2 separate regions of the Homo sapiens genome follow, and region 2 is linked to region 1. Evidence: promoter capture Hi-C in 16 types of primary human blood cells and fetal thymus (Javierre and others, 2016). All regions are on one chromosome and are shown on one strand. Each heading gives the region's core, a stretch centred on a gene start or on the middle of the fragment in contact. The rest is flanking DNA. Distances are from core to core; before and after follow the strand shown.

Evidence for each region. Contacts are between HindIII fragments. The CHiCAGO score rates a contact against its expected background, and 5 or more counts as called.
Region 2: a contact is called between a fragment that was not itself captured here and the fragment with the promoter of TP53TG1 in region 1, in 1 of 17 cell types (non-activated CD4 T cells). The highest score is 5.7, in non-activated CD4 T cells.

Annotation. Positions count from the first base shown.
Region 1 is chr7:87,342,416-87,348,527 of GRCh38, reverse strand. TP53TG1 (TP53 target 1) reads left to right here and starts at 3,036. Exons shown (of 3, transcript NR_015381.1): 1 at 3,036-3,485. CROT (carnitine O-octanoyltransferase) reads right to left here and starts at 2,864. Exons shown (of 18, transcript NM_021151.4): 1 at 2,761-2,864; 2 at 2,098-2,188. RefSeq lists a silencer at 2,839-3,048. The HindIII fragment of the contact is 3,653 bases long and covers 2,212-5,864 here.
Region 2 is chr7:90,403,738-90,409,849 of GRCh38, reverse strand. It overlaps CLDN12 (claudin 12), which reads right to left. Exons shown (of 4, transcript NM_001185072.3): 2 at 4,242-4,331. Among named protein-coding and RNA genes, the nearest start is that of CLDN12, 3.3 kb to the right of the region's middle. RefSeq lists an enhancer at 5,684-6,112. The HindIII fragment of the contact is 5,522 bases long and covers 254-5,775 here.

The sequences.
Region 1 (6,112 bases), core at 1,787-4,286:
AAGGATTATGTGTTGATATTGCATTGATATAGAAAACTTTGGAGCACAAAGTACAAAGAGGTGTGGAAGTGTCCAACTGTAGAATTAAAGATTATTATAGAATACATAAATCATATGACAAGCTGCTTTAATTGCACAGGTCGTATGAGGTCTACACAGAATGGTCTCAAGTGTTCCAAAGCAATCTTGAACATATTGACACGTGTATTAATTGCTATCAAAGAAATCTAACTCAAAATGTGAATAAGGTATACAAATGCTAAATAAAAAATGAGGTTTCTCAAAGCCTTTGTAAATTATCATATATTAATTATATTAAATAATGTAATATATTAAATGTAATTATATGTTAAAATAGCAACTGAGAAATCAAAGAACGTTAATATTGAATTTGAACTTCCTATTCTCTCAAAAACTATTTTTTAAAACTGATAGCAACGCTAAACAAAGTATTCCACTCATAGGTTACAGAATCGAACACTATCAAAAACATGGACACAGAAGAGACTATTTTCAGCTAATACCTGTTTTCCTCTGCTTTAACAGAATCCTGAGTTGTAGCTGTGCATACAGCCCCCAGTTTTATCTTTCCTACCCTCTCTTGGAGCTCAGTGTGGCTTTGTGATGACCTTGTGTGTGTCACTTCCAGGTCATGCTCCCAAAAAGGAATGCATGTGTTCTCCCTGCACTTTCCCTCCTTTTTACTACCTGCTAGGTAGTGACGAACTAAACAGCACCATGGCCTCATTTATGGAAGTCATATATGCAGGATTGCAGAATCTCCCTACTAGTCCTGGACTCCTACCTCTAGATGTATGGAAAAAAAAAAACTTCTATTTTATTCATACCATTGTATTTTGGGCTTTCTATTGTAGGGAGAAGAGCTTAGCCTGTACCACTAATATAAAGAGATAATTTGAAAATGAGAAATAATAATTAACTCAAAGTTCTTTAGCTTCTTTCTATCTATTGACTTTGGCTGCACACCATTTTGACCATCCATAAAAATGGGTTTGTACCTAATGGAAATGTAGATCTGGATCCAAGTACAGACTCTGCCACTTTCTAGCCATGTGCCCCTAGGGCAACCAACTTTAAGTGAATTTCCTTATCTTAGAGTGGTTAATCATACAATTCAATAAAGTCAGAATTTGTTTTCAATGCCTGTGAAAGCACATTATAAAAACAAAATAATCCTGCCTGAAACCACCATATTGTGGTAGGCACAATTACTATGAATGGCCCCCAAGATTCCACCCCTGCTAATCCCCAGAACCTGCGAATATGGTGAGATCATTACTCCTGTGATTGTGATATTCTCTACAGAACTGACCTTAAAATAGGGATATTATCGAATTGGAACTAATCTAATCACTTGAGTCCATAAGAGCAAAGAGCTTTCTCTGGCCAGTGGCAGACAAGTAAGACTGCTTTAATGCTTGAGAAGGATTTGTGGTGTCTTTGAAGATGCAGATGGCCTTAAAGAACTGAAAGAGGCTCAGGCTGACAAACAGTAAGGATATAGAAATGTCAGTGTGAATTCTACCAACAATCTGAAATAGCCTGGAGGTGGATTCTCCCCTAGAGCCTCCAGAAAAGAATCCAAATCTACAGAAACCTTGGTTTCGGTTTTGTGAAATTCTAAGCCAAGTACTCAGCTAAGCCCACCCAAACTTCACATTTACAGAAGCTATGAGATAATACATTTGTGTTGTTTTAATTGTTGCATTTGTGTAATTGGTTAAGGCAGCAATAGAAGACTAGTACACACATACAGAGAAGATAAGCTATTCTGTTTACCTCTGTGCCACTTAATAGACTCTAGAAAACTGGAAGCAAGAGTATTAGTTACATACCCACTATAGTGCTTAACCCACCAACCGGTACACATTAAAAATATAAATTATTGGATTCTTTCTTGAAGAGTTTTCTTGAATTCTCAACCACAAAGATTAAGTTAAATAAGATGGTTCCAATAGCACTAAGAAAATGATTATGCTAGATTTAATTAGAATTGACTTTCTGGGGGCAATTAGATATGAATTCACAGAAAGTGGAAAAGAACCACGAACAATACGTGAAGGAATTGTCACATACCAGTACACCAAGAAGATGAACTGCTTGAGACTGCCAGGAGCCTGCTGCAACAATTGTTTTGAGATCACAGGGAACTGGACTAAGTCGGTGACTGTGGGAAGAAAGAAACAAGCTTAACAAATATTTAAGAGGGAAAAAGAAATGAACAAGCTAGTGAAAGAAGGTGGAATGCAGACAAACTAGGAGTTGGGAGTTCCCAAGACAAACTTTTCGTGAATCACTGCAAACACACGCAAATAGTCCACCTGCTAGAGAGCAGGAGTAAATGATCATACAATTAAGTAGGTTTCAGACAAGTACACCTTCCATTAGACGGGTTCAAAGGGTAGAGGATACGTTTTCAGTGGCTGGGTAACAGGTTCGTCGCAGAGTGGCAAGGGGTAGAAGCAGGAGCAGAGGGCAATGAGAGCTCGGAGGCTCTTCCCACCAACCCAAGAGCAACTCTGCACTCAAGAGGCCATCAAGTGAGAGAAATCTAAGCACTACAACGGAGCAGCCCCGCGGCCCAACCTTGAGGGTACCCCTGAGACCCCAGCAGGCGAGATGCTTGATGACACTACTCCCCCACCAAATCCAGGCACCTTTGCGGTTCTGCACGACTTAACTTTCCCCCGCCCCCGAGTTGAAGGATTAGGGGAGGGAGGGAATGCTGCTTCAACGGACCTGTCCGTCCTCACCGCCCGCGCCTCGCCGCCTCTGCCGCAGCCTCAGCCTGCAGCAGCACCGGCTCGCTCCCCCTTGGGCCTCAAAGGTGCGGGAATTGGACTGAAGGCCGCTAGGGTCCCGCCCCGCATTCGCCGGGGAACAGGATTGGATAGAAAGCCGCGAGGGTCCCGCCCCTCACTTTCCGGGGAACGGGACTGGACGGACAGCTGCAAGGGTCCCGCCCCGTGCCTGACGTCGGGGGCGAGCCGGGCCTGCGCGGTAGTGGGACCCGACCCTGTCTCCAGTGGGCGTCTTGGGCCCCGGCTCTATTCTGGGCTGCGGGCCTGGGAAGGGCTCGCCGGGTGCCAAATGAGCTGTCCTAACTCTGCGGGGCTGCAGCTTCCTGCATGATGCTGGGGAGCTTGGCGCCTGACCCAGGATCTAGAAGGCACTCTGGGCAGGCCGCGCTCCGCCCACGAAGGTACCCAACCCTCTGGGATAGATGCAGGAAGCGATGGTTAAGACCCATTTTCACCCAACTTCTCGCCGCAGGTCTGGCTTACCACACGCTCCTCCCCATTCCCAGTGAGCCGCTTTTTGCAGCACCAGGCGAACACTTACACCAGTGCTTTGTAAAGGAATCTTATTGTCCACCCCGTGTCTTGGCAAAAGAACAGTGATCACACAGATTCCTACTTGGGCTCTTTCCTTTAATCTTCGGAGGCTGAGTTTGCCCAACTCAGGTATGCCGCAGCACACTACATCATCTCGGGTCTCCTTGCTCTTCTGCAGCTCTTCATTGCTACCCAAGTTATTTGAATACCCCAGGGATGCTTACCCCCGGGCCTATCTGATGTCTTTTACTGTTGTGCCAAGAAATGGAATCTTTAACCAGAGTGGAGCTACCCAAGTTCTAGAAGATCATAATGTGATTGACTTAGTTTCACAGATTAATTCATTTTGCTTTTACCTTCTGAAATAAAATATACTGTTTCATTTTTAATTTTAAATACACTGTTTCATTTTTTTGTGGAAGGAAAGACCAAATGTTTACACTGACTCTGAACTAGTTATCAAAGATAAAGATTTAGATTTCAAATTAACATGTCATGACAGGCCCCATTCCTTTGTCTGTCGTTTCTAACTCCTTTAGCAGTAAAGTTTGACCTGAAGGGAAGTGAGGCTATGTGTAACTGAATGTTCCCTTTGTGTAAATATTCATAAGTTTTCTACAGAAATATTGTGTTTGATTACAGTACAGCTTGCTGGAAGTGTTTCATAATATATGGCAGACGTACTATTCTAAGAAAAGTTCTGAATTTTGAAACATATCTAGCCAAAAAGATTTTAAATAAGGGATTAGGAATTTGTAGTTGTAATTTCTGAAGGTGTGATAAAGAACTTTTTCTTTCATATATAAGTGCGATGCTCTGGATGATGTTAAAGTTTGCTTACAAGATAAAGTTTTTAAATTGAGTAACTAAAAACTACTCAGAAACCTTCGTTGTATTTTTTTTCTCCTTTTTAGTGAGTCTTGGCATCTCTTTAAAAGTTTATGCATGTTTAATGCCTGTTGGTGCATAGAATTTAGAACCATTTCGCTTCACTCTTTTTCCTACTCTTGTTGTTTATTTCAATGGAAACAAGATGTTTCTGTAAAGATTCCTGAATTATCGGATAGACAAAAAGGTGTGGGAGTGAAAAAATGAATGGAACACAGATTTGAGTATGTAGAAAAAAATCTTTTAAAATATGTTATACTGATAAGCATATGTACCCCAAATCACCAAAAACAGGTATTTTAAAATATGTTTGGCTTCAAAATGTGTGATATATATTTTAATGAAAGATTCCAAATTATGTTGCATTCAGGTTAAACTTGAACGAGTTTGCATTTCTTAGAGTGGAGCGGGAGATATTGGCTGGTAAGGAAGATGTTTTAGGCACTTGAAGTATTTGTGATAGCAAGAAGTTGTTCCAAGATTAAAAATTGACTATGAGTCAAAGTAACTTTTTGGAGGAAAATTTGTAAGTAGTACAAGTGGTGATAATTTTTTAAGTTGCCATTAAAAAAATCTTTTATTTTTGTTCTTCTGTAGTTCTTACTCAGCATACCACAAATTGCAAAAGACTTTATAGATAAGTCTAGATAAATTTCACCATTAAAAAGTATTAAAATGCTAGACTAAGAAGTTCATGTTTCAATCTGCATAACTGGCTTCCTGCTAAGATTTGTGACTCTAATAAGTAAGGAGATATGGTAAATAGCCCTAATCTATGGGAGACCTGTAACCTCCTTTCATTCTGATGTATAAAATGAACATGTTGAAGAAATAATTTTGTGATGTTTCTTCTTTTTAATGGGGGGGCAGTAGAAATATGGTCATTTTGGGAAGCAGCCAACAGCAAATTAAAGTACACTGGACGCAAAGAGGGCAATGTAGCATTAAAAATGAACTCCACTGCCAACAGCAGATGAACAGTGTTTGATACAAAAGGTCTCTTTTTAGTACTAATCATTGATTTGGGGTTGCTTTTGATGATATTTACAGTACATGAAAAGTTGCCACCAAAATCTGAGGGGAAGAGTTAAGATAACTATGATGTTTTTGCATCTCAGAAAAAAATACCTTCTTACTAAACAAAATATAACATTTAAAAATTTTGTTAACATCTTTGTTGAAATATAATTTACATACCATAAAGTTCGGCCATTTAAAGTCCACAAATCAATGGTTTTACTATATTCACAGGGTTATGCAGTCACCATAAGCTAATTTTAGAACATTTGGTTCAAATATTTAAAAAGATTATTTTCTACATACTCAAATCTCTGTTCCACTCATTTTTTTCAGTCCCACAACTTTTTCTATATCCAAAAATCCAGGCATCTTTACAGGAACATTTTGTTTCCATTGAAATAAATAACAAGACTGGGAAAAGAGTGAAGCAAAGTGGCTCTAAATTCTGTGTTACCAACAGGCATTAAACATGATTCATCAACTGACTGATGAATGTATGAACCACTTTTTGTTTGTCCATTCATCAGTTCATGGACATTTGGGTTGTTTCTACCTTTTGTCTATTTAAATAATGGTACTATAAACATTTGTGTACAAGCTTTGTGTGAACAGGCTTTCAATTAGTATTTTAGGAGTGGAGTTGTGGGGTCGTATGTTAACTCTATGTTTAACATTTTCAAAAACCGTCAAACTGATTTCCAAAGGAACTGTACCGTTTTTACATATCTGCCAGCAATATGAGTTTCAATTTCTCTGTGCCTTTAGTTACAATAACAATATAACAGCCCTTGCTATTGTCTTTTAAAAAAAATACAGCCACTCTAATGAATGTGAAGTGGTGTCTTGTG
Region 2 (6,112 bases), core at 1,765-4,264, 3.1 Mb before region 1:
TTGCTCCCAATGTGTTTATAGAGACTTGTGGAAAGAAACGGCTGTCTTATGTAAACTCAAAGTGTTGGTGGTGAATCAACTGTATAATTACTACGTATCAAGTGATTATTGTTAGGTGTTAAGCAAAGTGAATAAGGTACCTGTTCATAAAAATTTATCAGGCAGGAGTTAAAGACTGAGAAATGAAGGAGAATAAGGATTTGATTAAAGTTGTGAAGACATAGGAAAAAGGTTCCCTCGTTTCTTTCAAGCTTCAGAAGTCTTCAGATAACCCACTCAAAGTCCTAATGCAATCACAATTCCTTCTTGCTTTCAGAAGTAATATACTGGCTGGGCGAATTGGCTCATGCCTGAAATCCCAGCACTTTGGGAGGCCAAGGCTGGTAGATCACTTGAGGTCAGGAGTTTCAGACCAGCCTGGTCAACATGGTGAAACCCCATCTCTACTAAAAATACAAAAACTAGCCAGGCATGGTGGCACGTGCCTGTAATCCCTGCTACTCAAGAGGCTGAGGCAGGAGAATCGCTTGAACCCAGGAGGTGGAGGTTGCAGTGAGCCAGATCACACCACTGCACTCCAGTCTGGGTGACAGAGCACGAGACTCTGTCTCAAAACAAACAAACAAACAAACAAACAGGAACAAAAAACAAAAGTAGTATAGAAATAATTGGAATTTCAATGTAATTGAGATTTCTCCAATCAAACTGCCCTGTAACACTGATTCCTGAAATGTAAATGGAGTGAGAAACAAGATCAGGATGTATAACTCCATTATTAATAAATTCCAGGCCAGGTGCTGTGGCTCATGCCTGTAATTCCAGCACTTGGGGAGGCTGCGGTGGGAGGATAGCTTGAGCCCAGGAGTTTGAGACCAGATTGGGCAACATAGCGAGACCCCATCTCTACAAAAAAAAGAAAAATTAATTATTAAGAAAAATAAATAAATTCCTATAATTCTTAGCCTATAGACTATCAAATGACATTAATGAAGAGAGGTACGACAATATATATTTCAGTAGTAAGTGCTTTTAACTATATTCTGCATCAAATCAATACAAATATTATATTGGTTCTCTGAAATTGCCTTTGATGAAGCATTCTTAGCTCAGATCTCAGGGATGGACAGAGGCCTATCTATACAGAGTCAACAAGGATACCACGGCACTTTTTCAGAAGGGAAGTACTATTAACCTTAATTCTTAAGCTAAATTTTGGCCTGATACTGGAATTAATGTCTAGCTTCTTTTGGCTACTTCACCTTGTATGCCCTGTTCTTAATTTCAAATGCCTATGATTTGATAAGTCATATATCCCACCAGAGAGATAAAGTAATTTCTTTTAAGACAGGGTCTTACTCTATCACCCAAGCTGGAGTGCAGGGCATGATCACAGCTCACTAGATTTCAGTGAGCTGAGATCCTGGGCTCAAGTAATCCTCCTGCCTCAGCCTCCTGAGTAGCTGGGATAACAGGTGCATGCCACCATGCCAGACTAATTTTTAAGTTTTCCCTAGAGATGGGGTCTTGCTGTGTTGCCCAGGCTGGTCTTGAACTCTTGGGCTCAAGCAATCCCCCCACCTCCACCTTTCAAAGGGCTGGGATTACAAAAGTAAGCCACCATGCCTGAAGTAAAATTTTATAGGATAGTTTGGGGAAAGAATATGTTTGATGTTTTAAAACAAAGATAATGCTGACTTCCCGATTAGGATTTGTTCATACTTGCAAGGGTAAAAAGACCTCTACTCTTGTGCTGTGTCAATTAGTTTTAATCCACAATAATTTTTTTCAAATGCAAACCTCATCCGCCATTCCATTTCTTACCATTCAATAAGTTCCCATTTCCCACAGAATAAAATCTCTAAAGTTTCAACTCCTCCCCATAGCTTACACCACCTGATTCCTACCAAATTCTCAACCTTCGTATGTGCCACTCTCCCACCCCACACACTACAGTCTATGCAGCCAAACCACATTTCTTTTGACTTCCCAAATTTTCCACTTTCTGATTTGGTTAAGGGCCTTCCCTCATGGTCTTTCTCCTAGAACTTTCTTAATTCCAACCTATTCTTTGCTTGGCTAATATTTACTCATTCTTCTAGTGTCCAGGGAGGCTTGTCCTAAACCTCCCCCTGTCCCTGGTTATATGCTGTGGTAGCACTTTTGCACTTTTTCTTCTGTAGCAGTGATCATTCTTATAACTCCTTGTTCAGTGTAGTTTTCTTTCCCATCAGACTGTGAATTCCAGGGACAGAGATCCCTTTGTTTTGTTCACTGTTCCCTATACTGGCACATAAAAGGCACTCGATTATTTGCTGAATGAATGAACAAACAAATGGAGGTTCTGTATAACTCTGGTCAGAATACAGACAGAAATTTAGTCTCAGTTCCATTCACTTCATTTGAGAGAATTCACACCACCCTGTGTTCTGATACATCCAGACTGTTTCTAGACTGTGCCCCTGCTTTCTCCTTTTTGGCCAAAAGACTCCCATTTTACAAAACAACATTCATTTTCTTACCCCAGAAACCTGTGATTAGCAAAGACAAGGCCATCCTTAGGTACCTACATGCAGACTATGATTCTAGAAATATATATCTAGGTTTAGCAACACTGTCTAACTTCAACAAATGGTTTGAAAGTCAATTATTCCTGGCGCGGCGTGGTGGCTCATGCCTGTAATCCCAGCACTTTGGGAGGCCGAGGTGGGTGGATCACGAGGTCAGGAGTTTGAGACTAGCCTGGCCAATATGGTGAAACCCCGAGACTCCATTTCAAAAACAAAAAGTCCACTGTTCCGGTATTGATTTTTCTGTTTTCAACTTAACAGGTATGTCATGAATTAGACATACTTCTCTTAAGAGTGGTTAATATATCAAATTAATATTTATTAAAGCTAAACAATATATAGTTTTTTTAATGGAGAAAAAAAAACATCTTTTTGCCATGTGAAAATCCCTAATTAGGGACTGTGGAAAACGTGCAAGGCTAAGAACACTTTAACAAATCTGTCAAGCAGTCATGAGTACTAGCTGGATGAGAGCTTTGAGCTAGGTCATACATACACATAAGTGGTTTGTTGTTTCCATCCAGGAGGCTGCTTGGTATTGTTGTCCAGGAGACCAAAGACCTGAATAACATTCATAACCTATCATTTACAAACTGGACAAGTCACTTATGTCCTCTGAACCTCCAATTTTTCATCTGTAAAGTGTCCCACAAAGTAGTAAAATCATGAATAGCAAAGTCCTTTGTAAACCAGAATATGGTCAGAAATGTAAGTCAGTAATGATTATTAGCAGGCTTATTTACTTTTTTCAGCTAGAAACATACTTTTCTTCTGGACCCTCAGCAAATGACTACAGATGGTTATAGTCATATAACAAGAAGGACAGAACATTCTCTTTGGAGATACTGACCAAATCAAATAGAGACTCTATTTCAAATAACCACTTCACATTTGTCATTTGACTCTCTGTTCCACCGTGACTCAGAAAAGTAGATAAAATTTGATACACAATTAAATGTTATCAGAGACATAATTACGAATAAAAATATTTTCAAATTATATATTTTCTGTGGTTTTGAATAGAATTTAAAGAAGGCTGGAGCAGGAACAGTGGCTAAGAGCTTTAGGAAGTCATGTATCCAATAGACCCTGTACTATTTTTTCCAGGCACAATTCTGAGTTATAGTTACAAGAGTTACGAGAGTACATATGTCTAATAGCAGCTAGCTTCTATTTTTTTGAGACAGGGTCTCGCTTTCTCACCCAGGCTGGAGCACAGTGGTGCAATCATGGCTCACTGCAGCCTCGACCTCCGAGGCTCAAGCAATCCTCCCACCTCAGCTTCCAGAGTAGCTGGGACTATAGGCATGTACCACCACAACTGGCTAATTTTTTAAAATTTTCTCATACAGTCAGGATCTCGCTATGTTGCCCAGGATGGTCTCAAACTCCTGGGCTCAAGGGATCCTTCCACCTCAGCCTCTCAAAGCGCTAGGGTTACAGGGCTGAGCCACCATGCCCAGCCCTAACTTAATTCTTGATGGTAACATTGAGAGTTCCTTCTACCTATAATTTGGGTTTTCTTAGAAACTGTAAGTCATCAGTCATTGTACTCACAAGAGAGGTCTGTCCTATACCTCTATTTTGTTGAACAAGAGAAAAAAAAAGAGTCATTGTTGGCAGATGTGGTAGCAGGAGGGAGGGAAATAAGATATAATTAAAGGACGTACTTACGCTTTGAGGTACCTGACAGTTCCAAAACAGCTTTATTCAGCTTAGAAGAGACACATGAAGATCTGAATACAGAGTAGCAATAATCTGAGCCTAAAGAAATAGGAAAAATACTCCAAATTAACATAGTACTTCTCTAAAAACCCTGCTTGAATTCCCATGGATTAGAAGAAATGATTAGTAATCACCTAAAACCAATGAAATGTTATACTAAAAAGGGCAGACAGTAAGTTTTTTAAAAAGGCAGTTTAGCAGGGGCACAGTGGCTTACACCTGTAATCCCAACACTTTGGGAAGCTGAGGCGGGATGATCACTTGAGCCCGAGTTCAAGACCAGCCTGGCCAACATGGCAAAACCCCATCTCTCCTAAAAATACAAAAATTAGCTGGGCATGGTGGCTCATGCCTATAGTCCCAGCCATGTGGGAGGTTAAGGCACAAGAACCGCTTGAACCTGGGAGGTGGAGGTTACCGTGAGCTGAGATTGCACCACTGCACTCCAGTGTTGGTGACAGAGAGAGATTCTGGCTCAAAAAATAATAATAATAATAATTAGCCAGGTGTGATGGTGCACACGTGTTGTCCCAGTTTCTTGGGAGGCTGACATGGAAGGATCACTTGAGCCCAGGAGTTTGAGGACACAGTGAGTCATGATCATGCCACTGCACTCCAGCCTGGATGACATAGCAATGATCTGTCTCAAATAATAAAAAAAAAAAAATAAAAAGGCTGTTTATTCCTTAATTCATGCATTATATATGAGAAATATATAGAATATAGAAAAATACGTAGAAATAGAAGAAAAAAATTAACTCATCTTGTGACTTGAGAATATAGGAGAAATGAGGATGAAAAACACTTTGCTGTCTTGGGAATATATGATTGATATTTAATGAATGTTTTAGATCATTTTCATGACTACGGTGAAAGGATAAGGAAGGTGGTGAAAGACTGTGCAGTTGTCTTGGAAGTAAAAGAAATTTTCTTTTACATTTTTAAAAAAGGACACTGACAACAAGACCAGACAAAGTTGATCTGAATTCTGCATCCTGAAATTTGCAACCAGAATGCTTAAAAAAAAAATAGTTCCACCAATGGCTCAACCTGATACTTAAAGATGCTTCTATATATCTACTTTAAACATTAGCCACTTCCTCTTCAAATACCATTTATCTCAAACAGGTAGGATGAGAATGGAAACTCATTATTATGTGCGCCTGAGAGTTTCCTGGATTGAGGCGTTCATCACTAGCCCTATTACGATCATTATGTAGAATGCTCTCTGCAACTGGCTGCTCGGAGATTTCAGTCAAGTCCCCCCCAACCCCTCCCCCGCCCCAAATGTGTTTCTTGGGTTGGTATCAATCATAATTGCACACTCCAAAGTCAGAGGAAATCGTTTTACAATTAATAACGCACAATAGAATCCTTGAGCAATCATTTTAAGTGAGGTCACCAAGTCTGACCTTTCCCTAACGTGGCTATGGGCCCCTTACAAGGCCGGGTGCACAGAACTTACAGGAAAGCAAACCAAGCTTCCAGAGCAATCCGCATCCCCCTCCGCCCCCCTCCTCCCCCCTCCGCCTCCTCTCCTCCTCCCTCTTTTCGAAGAGCCCTGTGTGTGGTAGACCCAGACCTGGCAGAAGGAAGAAAACGCCCTACTAGTTAGAGCCAATGGAGAGAGACCGCAACAGTGACTGTTAACGCTCTCAGAGCTAGCCCATCCCTGCAACACTGAGTGGGTTTGAACCGCAAGCAGGTCATCATTACGCAACCAGCATCAGCTGGTTATTCAAAAATAGCAGCTTGGGCTCCCCCACAAACCCGCGCCAGCAAAGCTCCCAGTCCTTGGCGGCTCCGGCAACACACCTCGA